Regions from separate parts of the Homo sapiens genome. Here all the other regions are linked to region 1. The links are contacts of gene promoters, found by promoter capture Hi-C in blood cells and fetal thymus (Javierre and others, 2016). All regions are on one chromosome and are shown on one strand. Each heading gives the region's core, a stretch centred on a gene start or on the middle of the fragment in contact. The rest is flanking DNA. Distances are from core to core; before and after follow the strand shown. Region 1 holds the start of OR51E1 (olfactory receptor family 51 subfamily E member 1). Region 2 overlaps OR52N2 (olfactory receptor family 52 subfamily N member 2). Region 3 has its middle 7.2 kb from the start of OR52N1. Region 4 overlaps LOC101927825 (a long non-coding RNA gene).

The links. The method cuts DNA at HindIII sites, captures the fragments that hold promoters and counts their contacts. A CHiCAGO score of 5 or more calls a contact.
Region 2: a contact is called between a fragment that was not itself captured here and the fragment with the promoter of OR51E1 in region 1, in 4 of 17 cell types (activated CD4 T cells, total CD4 T cells, naive CD8 T cells and 1 more). The highest score is 10.2, in activated CD4 T cells.
Region 3: a contact is called between a fragment that was not itself captured here and the fragment with the promoter of OR51E1 in region 1, in 5 of 17 cell types (total CD4 T cells, total CD8 T cells, naive CD8 T cells and 2 more). The highest score is 9.2, in total CD4 T cells.
Region 4: a contact is called between a fragment that was not itself captured here and the fragment with the promoter of OR51E1 in region 1, in 1 of 17 cell types (total B cells). The highest score is 5.4, in total B cells.

What each region holds. Positions count from the first base shown.
Region 1 is chr11:4,642,225-4,645,602 of GRCh38, reverse strand. OR51E1 (olfactory receptor family 51 subfamily E member 1) reads right to left here and starts at 1,621. Exons shown (of 2, transcript NM_152430.4): 1 at 1,573-1,621. OR51D1 (olfactory receptor family 51 subfamily D member 1) reads right to left here. Exons shown (of 2, transcript NM_001004751.3): 2 at 2,543-3,378. The HindIII fragment of the contact is 7,717 bases long and covers 202-3,378 here.
Region 2 is chr11:5,814,067-5,817,108 of GRCh38, reverse strand. The region is part of intron 1 of OR52N2 (olfactory receptor family 52 subfamily N member 2); the gene reads right to left. Among named protein-coding and RNA genes, the nearest start is that of OR52N2, 6.7 kb to the right of the region's middle. The HindIII fragment of the contact is 3,529 bases long and covers 1-3,033 here.
Region 3 is chr11:5,796,776-5,800,158 of GRCh38, reverse strand. No RefSeq gene overlaps it. Among named protein-coding and RNA genes, the nearest start is that of OR52N1, 7.2 kb to the right of the region's middle. The HindIII fragment of the contact is 803 bases long and covers 850-1,652 here.
Region 4 is chr11:6,345,198-6,348,319 of GRCh38, reverse strand. LOC101927825 (a long non-coding RNA gene) reads right to left here. Exons shown (of 7, transcript XR_930998.4): 7 at 1,951-3,122. Among named protein-coding and RNA genes, the nearest start is that of CAVIN3, 26 kb to the right of the region's middle. The HindIII fragment of the contact is 1,733 bases long and covers 714-2,446 here.

The DNA of each region.
Region 1 (3,378 bases), core at 372-2,871:
ATCAGTGTACTCATTTTTTCAATAATCATTGACGGACTTCTGTGCCAGACTCCACTGAGTACCAGAGATATCGTTCCAGCCTTCCAAGGATGGGGAGAAATTGAGACAAATATGCAGCCATCACAGCACATTATGATAAATTCTGGGACAAGGGGAAGCAAAAGGGCCTCAGAAGCAAAGACAACAATAGCTCAGCAAGCTTTTTAGGTTCCAAGGGCTTCCCTGAGGAGGTGACATTTAAGCCATGGCAGTGGCGGGACCTGCTGCAGGCAGGTAATGGGGCAGTGACACAGGCAGTTAATGGGGTGGGGCACAGCAGCATTCGGTTAGACAACAAAAACATATTGAGTGTCAAAAACTGGAGATGAAACAGTAGATAAATCAGACAAGATGATGGCTTTTATGGAGCTCATATAACACGAGGCCAATAATGAGAAGTAAACAAATAAAATTTCAGTTGAAGATAAGGGCACGAAAGAAAGAGTGATAGGACAGAGGAAGATGGGTGCAGGACACTCATACTGGAGACAGGGGTCAGAAAAAGCCTCTCTTAAGGATGTGACATGTGATGAGAAAACACCAGCCATTCTAAGATCCAGGGAAAGTGCATTCCAACTGTGGGAGACAGCAAGAGAAAAGCGTCCCCCAGCAAGAATGATATTGGGGGATTCATGGAACAAAAGGAAGGTCAAGGTGGCCAGAGCATCAAGAGCACAACAGAGTTTGAGAAGATGAGGCGGGAGGAAGGCAAGGACCTCATCAGGTAACAGGGTCTTGCAGGGTATGGCAAGGAGCTTTGGTTTAATTCTGAGTGACTTGGGGGAATTTCAGCAACAGAACTTATCTAGTTTGTTTTTAAAAATACATCCTGGCTAATACAAAGAGCCAGAGAGAAAGAGAACAGACCTTGTTTGGAAAGCTGAAAGTGACTTAGTGTAGCTAGGGTAAAGAGTACAAGGCAAGGGGTGTTGCCGTGTGGACACTAATCTACTTTTTAAATGGGCTGAAGACTGAATCCTGATCCTAGACACAGACCAAGCTGAGATCGGAGCCCCAGGAAGATTACTAAGTCCCAGTCTCAGCCACAGCCTGACTCCTGATGTACAGCATACAGTGAAACCAACCTCACTCAGAGCCCCACTTCCACCCCAGCTGCAGCCTCATCCCCAGTCATAGACTGAGCTTCAACCACGTTCACCCTGTTCACACACCAAACCCCGACCCAACCCCAATGCAGCCCCAGTCTAACCCCAGCCCAGCCTGTCCTCTGTCCTCTGTCCTCATTCACATCAGCCCCTGCCAGCCTCCAGATGGGCATACTAGTAAACTAATCACTGAAAAACTGCTTGAAAACTACCCTTAGGCTACCTCCAGCACCCACATGCTTTCTGTTCAGCACACAAACCTAGAGATCACTAAGGCTGCCTGTCCTTTGAGTCAGGGGCTTCCTACACATCTCCCACTTCTGGTTCTTCACAGCCTGGCTTCTCATGCACTCAGCAAGTCTAACAGGAGACCCCTAGCTGCAAGTAACCCATGCACCTGGACATGCCCCTGGCCTCCTGCACTCACCTCAACCGTATGGAAGGAATGTGTGACCCCCTTTGTCCAGTCTTCCTCCAGAAGAGGTCTGGCAGGCTGCACTGAAATACAGCCTCTCTGTCTCCGCCTACTCCCTTGGACCTCCCTGGTCAGGGTTATTTATTCTCTGCCTCACCCTCTCCCTCCTTCTGCTTCTTCCTGCAGGGTGGGGCAGAATGCTGTCCAAAGGGTACATCAGCAGGTACCCCTCACTAGCCCACTGTGGTTCTGGACTGCTTCTCAGCTTCCGTGCCCTGGGAGGATATGCCTGGGGGTATGGGGAGGAGAGGCAATGGGGAAAGGGATCTCTAGAGTCCTCCCCTGATGGGCTGCTGGGATCCTCATGCCAACTCCCAATGTGAAGGATAGATAGGGAAAGTGAGTAGAAAAAAGCTAGAAGAAACTCATTAGTGTAGTCTTCGTGACGGTCTTTATCCAAGTCTCTTCTCAGGTTTATCAAACTCAAACAGGAGAATGGCAAAGGAAGTTTGCAGAGACACTCCACGGTTAAGTGTCAGCCCATTTCCATCCTGAAGTGTTCTTTCTGTCCTCCCTTCTCTCATTTGGGGGACACTGTTTAGGTCCTTGCTAAGCGTGGAATTCACTGGGTCCATCCTCCTTTTCCCAAAGCCCTAGGGCTACATCTTTTTTTGTCTCCCAGGCTCTGGTCCCTGTGTCTGGATAACTTATAACCAAGGTCCCCAGGGACAGTGCCTCTGCCGTCCACTCTCTGGCCTTGGATTACTGAACTTCTGGCTGAGGACAGAGAACGTGGTTTCTTTAACCCTCCCCACCCCCAACACCAGCCACGTAAGACCAATGACATCTGGTTTCTCCCTTAAGGGCAAAAATAGTCAGAGAACATTTTAGAGAGTTAGAGAACAATTTGAATGTAAAACTAAATACCTCGTATTTTGAAATAAGTAAAAACTACATCTATAAATAGAACAACATGGTTTTTAGTTGGTCTCCCCTTATTTTTTACTGATCAGTTTCACAACTGTGAGTTTTAAATTCAGAACACAGGACACGCTAAATCAAGCTATGTTAAATAGATCATGGCAAATCAGACCATTCTAACTCAGACCACATCAAAATTACTGGTGACAACAGTTTCTGGTGCCTACAGAGCACGCAGCCTGACACTTGCTATCAGAACCCTGGAGCCATCTCTGCTGCCTCCATTAACCTCATTAACTTAGACATGGCAAAGACTTTAAAAAATACCAAAGGGACTTCTACTTCCATCCAATATGGAGTAACAATGAGACATGTGGAAGGACAGTGAGACATGAGACAAGGTGAATAATGAGGTGAATGCTACAGTTTTTTCAGCTTCCTGCCTTAAGGGAGTTTCCATGCGGCAACAGAAGGGAGATTGACTGGCTTCCCCTCCACCCTTGCTTTCCCAGAGGGATTAGGAGAAACTCCCTACAACCAAGGCTTTTTTTTTTTTTTTTTTTTTGACACAGAGTCTTGCTCTGTCACCAGGCTGGAGTGCAGTGGCATGATCTCGGCTCACTGCAACCTCCACCTTGCGGGCTCAAGCGTTTCTCCTGCCTCAGCCTCCCAACTAGCTGGGACTACAGGCACGCGCCATCACACCCGGCTAATTGTTGTATTTTTAGTAGAGATGGGGAACCAAGGACTTTTATACATGTTTGGCAGATAAGCCAAAAAGGGAAGGGAGAGGTGAGGATACCATGACTTGCTATTGAGGCAGGAGGGCAGGGTTTAGGGAGGCCAGTGCCTCGGATAGCAGAGGCAGGAAACGTAGGAAGAGGTAACAAAAGCCCT
Region 2 (3,042 bases), core at 20-2,519, 1.2 Mb before region 1:
AAAATTAATGTATTCCTTTTGTTGTTTTGTTTAGCTTTCAGCATTAGCAATATTACATACAGGTGTATAAAGATTCCTGCGACTCCTTGGAAACAAAACTTTCATTTAAATGAAAAATTTAGTTGTGTTTATAAAACAATAGAATACACACAAAATTATTTTGTCAAAATTTAAATTAATGCAGCTATTACAAAAATACATATATGAGTTTCAGTGTAAACTCTTCTCTTTTAGATCTAAAAATGTAGAAAAATGAGAATTGGTATGAAACATTGGTTGGATTTAGATCAGGAGGTCAGGCGCAGTGGCTCACACCTATAATCCCAGCACTTTGGGGGGCCCAAGAGTTTGAGACCTGCCTGGACAATATGGTGAAACCCGTCTCCACTAAAAATACAAAGATTAGCCAGGCGTGGTAGTGCAAGCCTGTAGTCCCAGCAACTCGGGAGGCTGAGATGGGAGGGTCGCTTGAGCCTGGGAGGCAGAGGTTGCAGTGAGCTGAGATAACTCTACTGCACTCCAGCCTGGGTGACAGAGTGAGACCGTGTCTCTCAAAAAAAGAAGATTTAGATCAGGCTTCCTAAATTGGAGACCATACATGGCCTCCGCACTGTTTACACTCAACTGCATGAAGACCTCCTATGCAGTTCTTTAAAAAGAAAGTTCATAGGGTGCCCTATAATTTATCACTTTGCTCATAAATATTTGTATTGTGTTTGGTTTAGTTATTGACATGCCCGATTCATTCTTTTTGTAGTGTAGTAAAATATACATAACAAAGTTTGCCATCTTAATCATGTTCAGGTATATACAGTTCAGTGGCATTAAATACATTCATCATGTTTTGCAGCCATCACCACTCTCCATCTCCAGAACTCTTTTCATCCTGTCAAACTGAAACTCTACACCCATTAAACAATAACTCTCCATTTGCCCTCCCACCAGCCTCTGGCAACCACTATTCTTTCTGCTGTCTAATGATTTTGACCTTTCTAGGTACTTTATATAAATGGAATCATATGATATTTGTCTTTTTGTGACAGGCATATTTTATTTAGCATAATGTCCTAAGTTTCATCTATGTGGTAGCAGATGTCAGAATGTTCTTCCTTTTTAAGTCTGAGTAATATTGCATTATATGTACAGGTATATACACACATACATATATATATACATATATAATGTATATATACACACGTATATACACACATGTATATACACACATACACATACATACTACATTTTGCTTATCCATTATTCATTCATCCATTGATGGGCAATTAGATTGTTCTTATATCTTGGTTACTGTGAATAATGCTGCAATGAACGTGTGACTGCAGACACCTCTTCAACATACTGATTTCAATTCTCCTGGGGATCTCACGCAATAGTGAGATTGCTGAATCATATGCTATTTTTAGTTTTAATTTTTTGAGGAACTACCATACTGTTTTCCACCGCAGCTGTAGCATTTTACATTTTTGCCAAAAGGGCACAAGTGTCCAATTTCTCTACATTCTCACTGACATTTATTATTTTCTGTTTATTTTTATAGTAGCCATCCTAATTGGTGTAAGGTGGTTTTTTATTGTAGTTTTAATTTGCAGTTCCCTAATGATTACTGATGTCCAGTGTCTTTTATGTGTTTATTATCCATTTGTATATCTTCTTTGGAGAAATGTCTATTCTAATCCTTTGCCCATTTCTTATTAAGCTGTTTGTTGTTGTTGTTGAGGTTTAGGAGCTCTATATATATTTTGGATATTAATACCTATCAGATATATAATTTATAAATATTTTCTTCTGGTCTGTGGGTTGCCTTTTTACTTTGTTTATAGAATCTTTTGATGCACAATTTAAAAACAAATTTCATAAAGTCTAATTTATCTGTTTTTTTCTTTTGTTTCCTGTGCCTGTGCCTTTAGTGTCATTTCCAAGAAATCATTACCAAATCCAATGTCATAAAATTTTTTCTCTTTGTTTTCTTCCAAGAGTTTCATAATTTTAGGTTTTATTTTTACGTCTTTGATCCATTTTGAGTTAATATTTGGACATGCTGTTATGTAACAGTCCAACTTCATTTCTGTACATGTAGATACCCAGTTTTCTCAGCACTATTTATTGTAAAGAATGTCCTTTCAACATTGAATGATATTGACACTCTTGTCAAAAGTAACTTTACCACATATGTGAGGGTTCACTCTGGGCTCTCTGTTCTACTTCATTGGTCTGCAGTTCTGACTTTGTGCTAGTGCCACACTGTTTTGGTTTACTGTCACTTTGTCATAAGTTTTGAAATCAGAAATGTGAGTCCTCCAGCTTTTCTCTTTGTTCAAGATTGCTTTGGCTATGTAGGGTCCCTTGAGATTTCATATGAATTGTAGAATGGATTTTTCTATTTCTGCAAAATTAATTATTGGGATTTTGATAGGGATTTTACTAAATCTGTAGATTACTTTGGGTTGTACTGACATCCTAACAATACTATCGTCCACCCCTTGAACATGGCATGTATTTCCATTTATTAATGTCTTCTTTAATTTATTTCGGCAATATTTTACAGTTTTAATTATATAAGTTTCTTGCTTTTGCATTAATAACAAACAATCTGAAAGGAAATTAGGAAAATAATTTAATTTACAATGGAATTAAAAATAAAATATAATTTTATTATGTATTTTGTATTTTCTTATGTATTTTATTATTTTATGTGCTATTGTGAATTGTTTTTTCTAAATTTCTTTTCAGATTGTTGTTAACGTATAAAAAGGCAACTGATTTTTGCATTCTGACTTCGTATCTTGTTACCTTGCTCATTTATTATTTTAACAAGTTTTGTGGAATCTTTAGGGTTTTCTACATAGTAGATCATTTCAACGGTGAACAAAGATAATTTTACTTCTTCTTTTTCAATTGAGAGGCCTTTTATTTCTTGTCCTTGCCTAATTGCTCTGGCTAGGACTTTCAGTACTATGTTGAATAGAAGTGGTGAAAGAGGATACCTATGTCTTGTCTAATTTCAGAGGAAAAGCTTTCAACTTT
Region 3 (3,383 bases), core at 2-2,501, 1.2 Mb before region 1:
GAACCAACAGAATAAAAACATATTGTAAACATAGTGCCAAAGCCCTGGCCTGGCTTGGTTTTCTACTGGAAACTCTGTTTATATGTGTCTGCTTACATTCCTGGGCCATTTAGTAATGCTTGACTTTGCAACCTCAACCAATTTCCAAATTATAAACTCTATTTAAGTAACATTGATTTTCTTAATTCACTACAAACTATCCCTTCTTTCAAGAAATACTTTGAGATGTGTCCACTGGGTTATAGTTAATCAAATTATGTCAGCACCTACCAATTATGCACTTCTATTATGATTCAGCTTGATCTATATACAAGTGTAAACCTGGCAGGTCTGGATTTTCCAAGTCAGAAAAATCAAGGACAGAGATGGGAAGGGCCAAAAAGGTACATAATAAGTTACAATTTATAAATCATGGCCATGTGTATTTTGTATTCGTCTCTTTTTGTATTCTTTCAGGTTTCTTGATGGTAAGCATGAAATATTTTTGAAATGTTTGCATTTAGCTAATAACATTATTAAGCTCTACGTAATTTTCATGCTTTTTGTTAACTCTCCTCAAATCTCTATGTTGATAAGCATGATATATATAAGCATGATACATATGATAAATCCATGATATATATCACTCTTTAAGTGTGCTTACATATACTATTAATATACAGTACATGTATTACCTATGATCATAATTTTATACCTTCTTTTGATGTATCATTTTTAGCCCCCAAATAACTATAGACAATTATATTGGGTAGGATAAAATCTTTACTAATTTTTTAGTCCAGTTTTTGAGAATGGTTAGCTTTCCATCTTTCTTCTGAAGTCTGAAACATGAATCTAACCTTGTAAGCTTTTCTGATTAAAGTGAGACTCCATAGTCTTACCTTTTGTTTCTTTCCTTCTTTCTTTCTTTCTTTCATTCTTTTTAAAAATATTTCCCCAGTTATTGGTTGCTTTAGATTACCAAATTGAATTATTCATTTTTCCATATCATTGCAGTTTAACAAATTATTTTATATTATCTTCTGTTATATGTTAATCTCCTTCTTCAAAGTTCTAATTTTGATTGCTTCTCTCTCTCTCTCTCTTTCTCTGTGTGTGTGTGTGTGTGTGTGTGTGTGTGTGTGTGTGTCCGTCTGTCTCTATCGCTGTGATGGGATTTAACCTAGAGTTTTCTACAGAGTTTTTTTTAACCATTAATCAGTGGAAATCTTTTCAAGTGTTGCTGTATAAATAATCTCAGTATATAAAAAAGATAAAAGTAAAACCTTCTAGAAAACAATAAAAAATAGAACTGATTATTTTTAAAGCATTTTGCTTTAAGGCAAAATACTTTTAATGTTAAGTAAAGTAAACCATGTAATTTTTCAGCACAACCTGGAACATAATAAGAAAAATACGTAATACTATCACAATTATTGTTAGTATTATTATCATTATATCGCTCTACAAAATAAGTGAAAATAAAATTATATCCAGCCATCCCTTAAAACCTCCTGGATACTTCCGTCTTACTCAGAGCAAACACCAACATCCTTATATTTGTTTACAAAATCCTACACAATTAGGGCTCTTTTAAATATCTGAATGTATCTCCCAGTATTCTAATTCTCATTCTCTCAGTCCATCCATACCTACTGAAGTTTTCTCAAGCTTAACAAACATGTACAATTAAAGATATTTCTACTTGCAGTATCAATGCCTGCTATGTTCATCCCAAGCTGTATAATGAACGGATGGATGAATAAATTCTAAAATCTCCTTTTTGGATGGTTCTCCTGCTTATACATAAATACCTTAACAAATTAGTGTCACAATAAACTTTGAAAAATAAAAACGTATTAGGAAGACATGATTTCAAGTTTCAAGATGTCCTTAATCTTATCTACAAAAATTAAAAATTAATGAAATCGGAGATATTTAGAATTGGGAAGAGTACATGTAGTAGATGCATGCAAATTGTCTTTTGTATTATTTTGCATATCCCCAAAATAAACATATTATAAATAGAAAAATGTTACAGAAATGTAAATTTGGCTTTGAGGAATGTTGCCCATTCACACAGATAAAATTTTCTAATAAGATAATGGGATCACTGCCATCTGAGGTATCAAGCAGTGGGAAAACGGCATATGTCATTAATGTCGTCAAGAACTTGGGCTACATGATCACTAGAATTTCTTCCAAGTGTTCTTTTTTTTAACTTTTAAGTTCAGGGATACAAGTGCAGGTTTGTTCCATAGTTAAATTTTTGTCATGGGGGTTTGTTGTGGAGATTATTTCATCACTCAGGTAATAAGTCTAGTACCCATTAGTTATTTTTTCTGATCTTTTCCGTCTTCCCACCCTCCATCCTAACTCTTACACTAATTCATTTTCAATGGTAGAGATGTTACTGCTTCCTGAGGAATACTCTTCCATCTATGGAGGGCAGAGAAGTTTTTCTATTATTGTATAGAAATATGCTTGCCTATATCTCTTTGGTCCTTGTCACATCAGCCTCATGGAATCCCCTTCCTTCAGGACCTAAACTACATTTAATTTTCTCCCTCTTCTCCCTCCTCAAGGCAATTTGCAAATTCCTTGGTTTCAAAATTCTAAAGAGTGAAGTAATTCAGAACTTCCTTATTCAACTGCTCTCTCATTTAAATCCCTCCTATATAGTAGCAATTTTGTGCATTTTATATATTTGTTTTCTTTTTATCTGAACCATTTTCATCCAAACTCACCCTGGTGCCAGATGTTTTTAAATTCCCATTCATGACTGATATTACTTAGAAATAATTGCACAATATTGATGAGGAACCCTATGTAACAAACTTAATATCTTCTCTGGGGATTTTCCAAGCCAAGGTAAAAAAATTCTTTGGGGCTTTACAGATAGATGTCCCATAGGTCTCTGAAAAGGAGGTGAATTTACCTTTGTTGAAAATAGATCTATAATTAGAATATGTCTATGCCTGACAGAAAAAAATCTCAAATTTTATTATTGATGGGACATGTGAAGTGTCTAGCATCTATTGAATCATAAACCTGGAATTTTACCTGACTCCCTAGGGCAGTTCCATTCCAGTTTCATAACATTTTATATATTTATTCATGTGCCATGTGGGTATTTTAAAGCTTTCTCAAAAATATTGAGTAAACAATTTCAGAATGTTTTATGCTAGGGGCTCATTAAAATATATATTCTGCAATAAGGCTGAGTTATGTCTTTATTTGAAAGGTTAACACTGTTAAATGCACTGTCTCTCCATCACTGTTCCCCTTTACTTCAGTAGAAATATAGCATTCTTTTCTGTTGCAATCCCCGTTAGTACATCTTGATCAAGTTTAAGGAAACATCAAAGGCTGGGATTGAAATTATCCTCAAAGTAGACAGATGT
Region 4 (3,122 bases), core at 331-2,830, 1.7 Mb before region 1:
AACCCCCAGCCCCAGCTACTGGTAACTACTTTTTTTTTTTTTTTTTTTTTTTTTTTGTTGAAACGGAGTCTGGCTCCGTCGCCCAGGCTGGAGTGCAGTGGCGCGATCTCGGCTCACTGCAAGCTCCGCCTCCCGGGTTCATGCCATTCTCCTGCCTCAGCCTCCCGAGTAGCTGGGACTACAGGCGCCCGCCACCACGACCGGCTAATTTTTTGTATTTTTAGTAGAGGCGGGGTTTCACTGTGTTAGCCAGGATGGTCTGGATCTCCTGACCTCGTGATCCGCCCACCTCGGCCTCTCAAAGTGCTGGGATTACAGGCGTGAGCCACCGCGCCTGGCCGCAGCTACTGGTAACTTCTATTCTACTCTCTGCTTCTATAAGTTTGACTTTTTAAAGATTCCACATATTTCTGAAATCATGCAATATTTGTCCTTCTGTGTCTGGCTTGTTTTACTTCACATAATGTTTTCCAGGTTTCTCCATATTGTCACAAATGAAAGGATTTCCTTCTTTATAAGGGCTGAATATATCCCACATTTTCTTTATCCATTAGGATGGTTAACCTTGACTACGACTGGAGAAAAGTGCTTTTCTTCGCTCTCAATGGTTCATTTCACATGGAGGGAGCTCTTTTAGAGTAATAATACTGGCCTCCCTCTCCAGAAGAGAAGTCAATGACTTAGCTAAATGATACATTTGGGAAGAACAAGCTTCAGCTTTCCCAGTTGTCTCTTTGGGATCCAGGTTGACCTCAAAAGCATGCACTTCAAAGGACATTCTAAAGGGGCTTGCCCCATTGGTAGACCTCATTTTTCCAGTATGAACTATAGCTGTGTAGGTAAACCTCTTTTTATTTCTGGGATTCACTATTAGAAAGTTATTTTATCCAATGATATAAGCCATCTTTCTAATATTAACTTTGTCAGTCATAGAAATGATTATTGGTTTCTACCTTTTAACTGGTGTTGAACTCAGGAGAGGGAAAGATGTGCCGTTTATTGAGGCACATCTTCAACACACAACTTCAACATCTGATTCACTGGACCAGGAGCCTTAAAAAATAAACAGGGAGTGAAATTTGGAGACCCAACTATTATGTTAAGAGGCTTTTGGTGAAGCCAGTTTTGGGTTTGGACTTGAGCAAGCATACATTTGTGATTGCAGTGGTTTTGTGGAAGTTTATATTAAGCCAGAAGTCTCTTTTAATGGATGTAACTGGTTTTTATCAGTTGTAACTGGGGAGGAAGTTTCAGGTTTTCATTGCTGGCCAGGGGGAGTTTTTTTTTTTTTTTTTTTTTTTGATGGAGTCTCACTCTGTCGCCCAGGCTGGAGGGCAGTGGCACGATCTCGGCTCACTGCAACCTCCACCTCCTGGGTTCAAGCAGTTCTCCTGCCTCAGCCTCCCAAGTAGCTGGGACTACACGTGTGCACCATCACACCTAATTTTTGTATTTTTAATAGAGACGGGGTTTCACCGTATTGGTCAGGTTGGTCTCGAACTCCTGATCTCAGGTGATCCACCCTCCTTGGCCTCCCAAAGTGTTGGGATTACAGGCATGACTCCCCATGCCCGGGCCCAGGTGGGACTTTCACCTTGATGGGGCCCCACAAGTCTCGGGTAAGGATCTGTTACCCACAGGTTACCTTATCCACAGGTAAGGATCTGTTTTTAATAGAGGCAGGGCTCTGGGCTGACCTTAGGGGAACAGTAGATGGGTCTTGCCTGCCTTCAGCCAAAATGTCTCTGTCAAGGTGCATGTGGGTGTCCTTAATATTCAAAAGGGTAGGCCTTAGCCAGATGCCACTGTGGGCGGGGTTGGGGGATGGCTCAGTAAAGACACAACTATAGCCAAAGTGAGAGCCTTGGGTGTAATGTGCTGTAGATTATTCTTGAACTACACAGGTATTAGAGCAGGACAAGCTGCAGACTAAACCTCTCAGACACCGAGTTAAGAAGGAAGGGCTTTATTCGGCTGGGAGCTTTAGCAAGACTCACATCTCCAACAACCAAGCTCCCCGAGTGAGCAATTCCTGTCCCTTTTAAGGGCCCACAACTCTAAGGGGGTCCACGTGAGAGGGTCGTGATCGATTGAGCAAGCAGGGGTACATGACTGGGGGCTGCATACACCGGTAATTAGAATGGAACAGAACAGGACAGGGATCTTCACAGTGCTTTTCTTATGCAAATAACCGATTAGGTCAGGGGTCGATCTTTAACTACCAGGCCCAGGGTGTGGCGCCGGGCTGTCTGCTTGTGGATTTCATTTCTGCCTTTTAGTTTTTACTTCTTCTTTCTTTGGAGGCAGAAATTGGGCATAAGACAATATGAGGGGTGGTCTCCTCCCTTAGTATCAGAGTTAGGATATGCACATGAGCCATGTGAGGGCCATGAAGATGCTGGTGAGGTGCAGTGCCGTAGTGAGCAGGGACAGCTGAAGCAAAGCTTTAATCAAGGAGAAGAGAGAGAAGAGAAACAGAGAAAGGAGAGTCCTATATCTGTAAAAGACACCCTGAATCCTTTAGATGTGGGTGGGGTGCAGAACAATTATTTATTAGTTGTGGTATTCACCAGTGTAAGTAGGCTGCTCCAAATCTGATCCACTAAGATGTTTTGAAATGACTTTATCCAAGAAAGGGAACTATGGAGAGACTATCCTGGAATTCTTAAGGCTTATCTCAGGCTCAAGTGCTAGTCTCATATCTTGAGAAGCCTAAGATACATGAATAAAAAAGGAAAAGGTGATGCAACTAGATGTAATTGCTCTTAGAGTATCAGAAAAATATGAGCTGATTGCGTTATTATTAGCTCAGAAACAGTCATTAGGTCCTAAATAAATCTAACAAGATAAAAAAGCATAGATTTCAGTGATGGCTGAAATTACTCCTTCAAAAGGGATCTAGGTATAGAAAACTATTAAGGTGTAGCATCTCACAATCAGGGTGGAGAGAGAGAGAGACAGAAAGAGAGAAGGAGAGGGAAGGAGGGACGGAGAGCATGAGGGAGATTATAGCATGAGCAAATAGGGACTTATTCCTTAAAGATGGAGACAGATACACCAGCTAGTTACAGAAAAACTTAATGGGGTTGAGAGGAAGACCAGAAAGATTACTGTAAAGTACT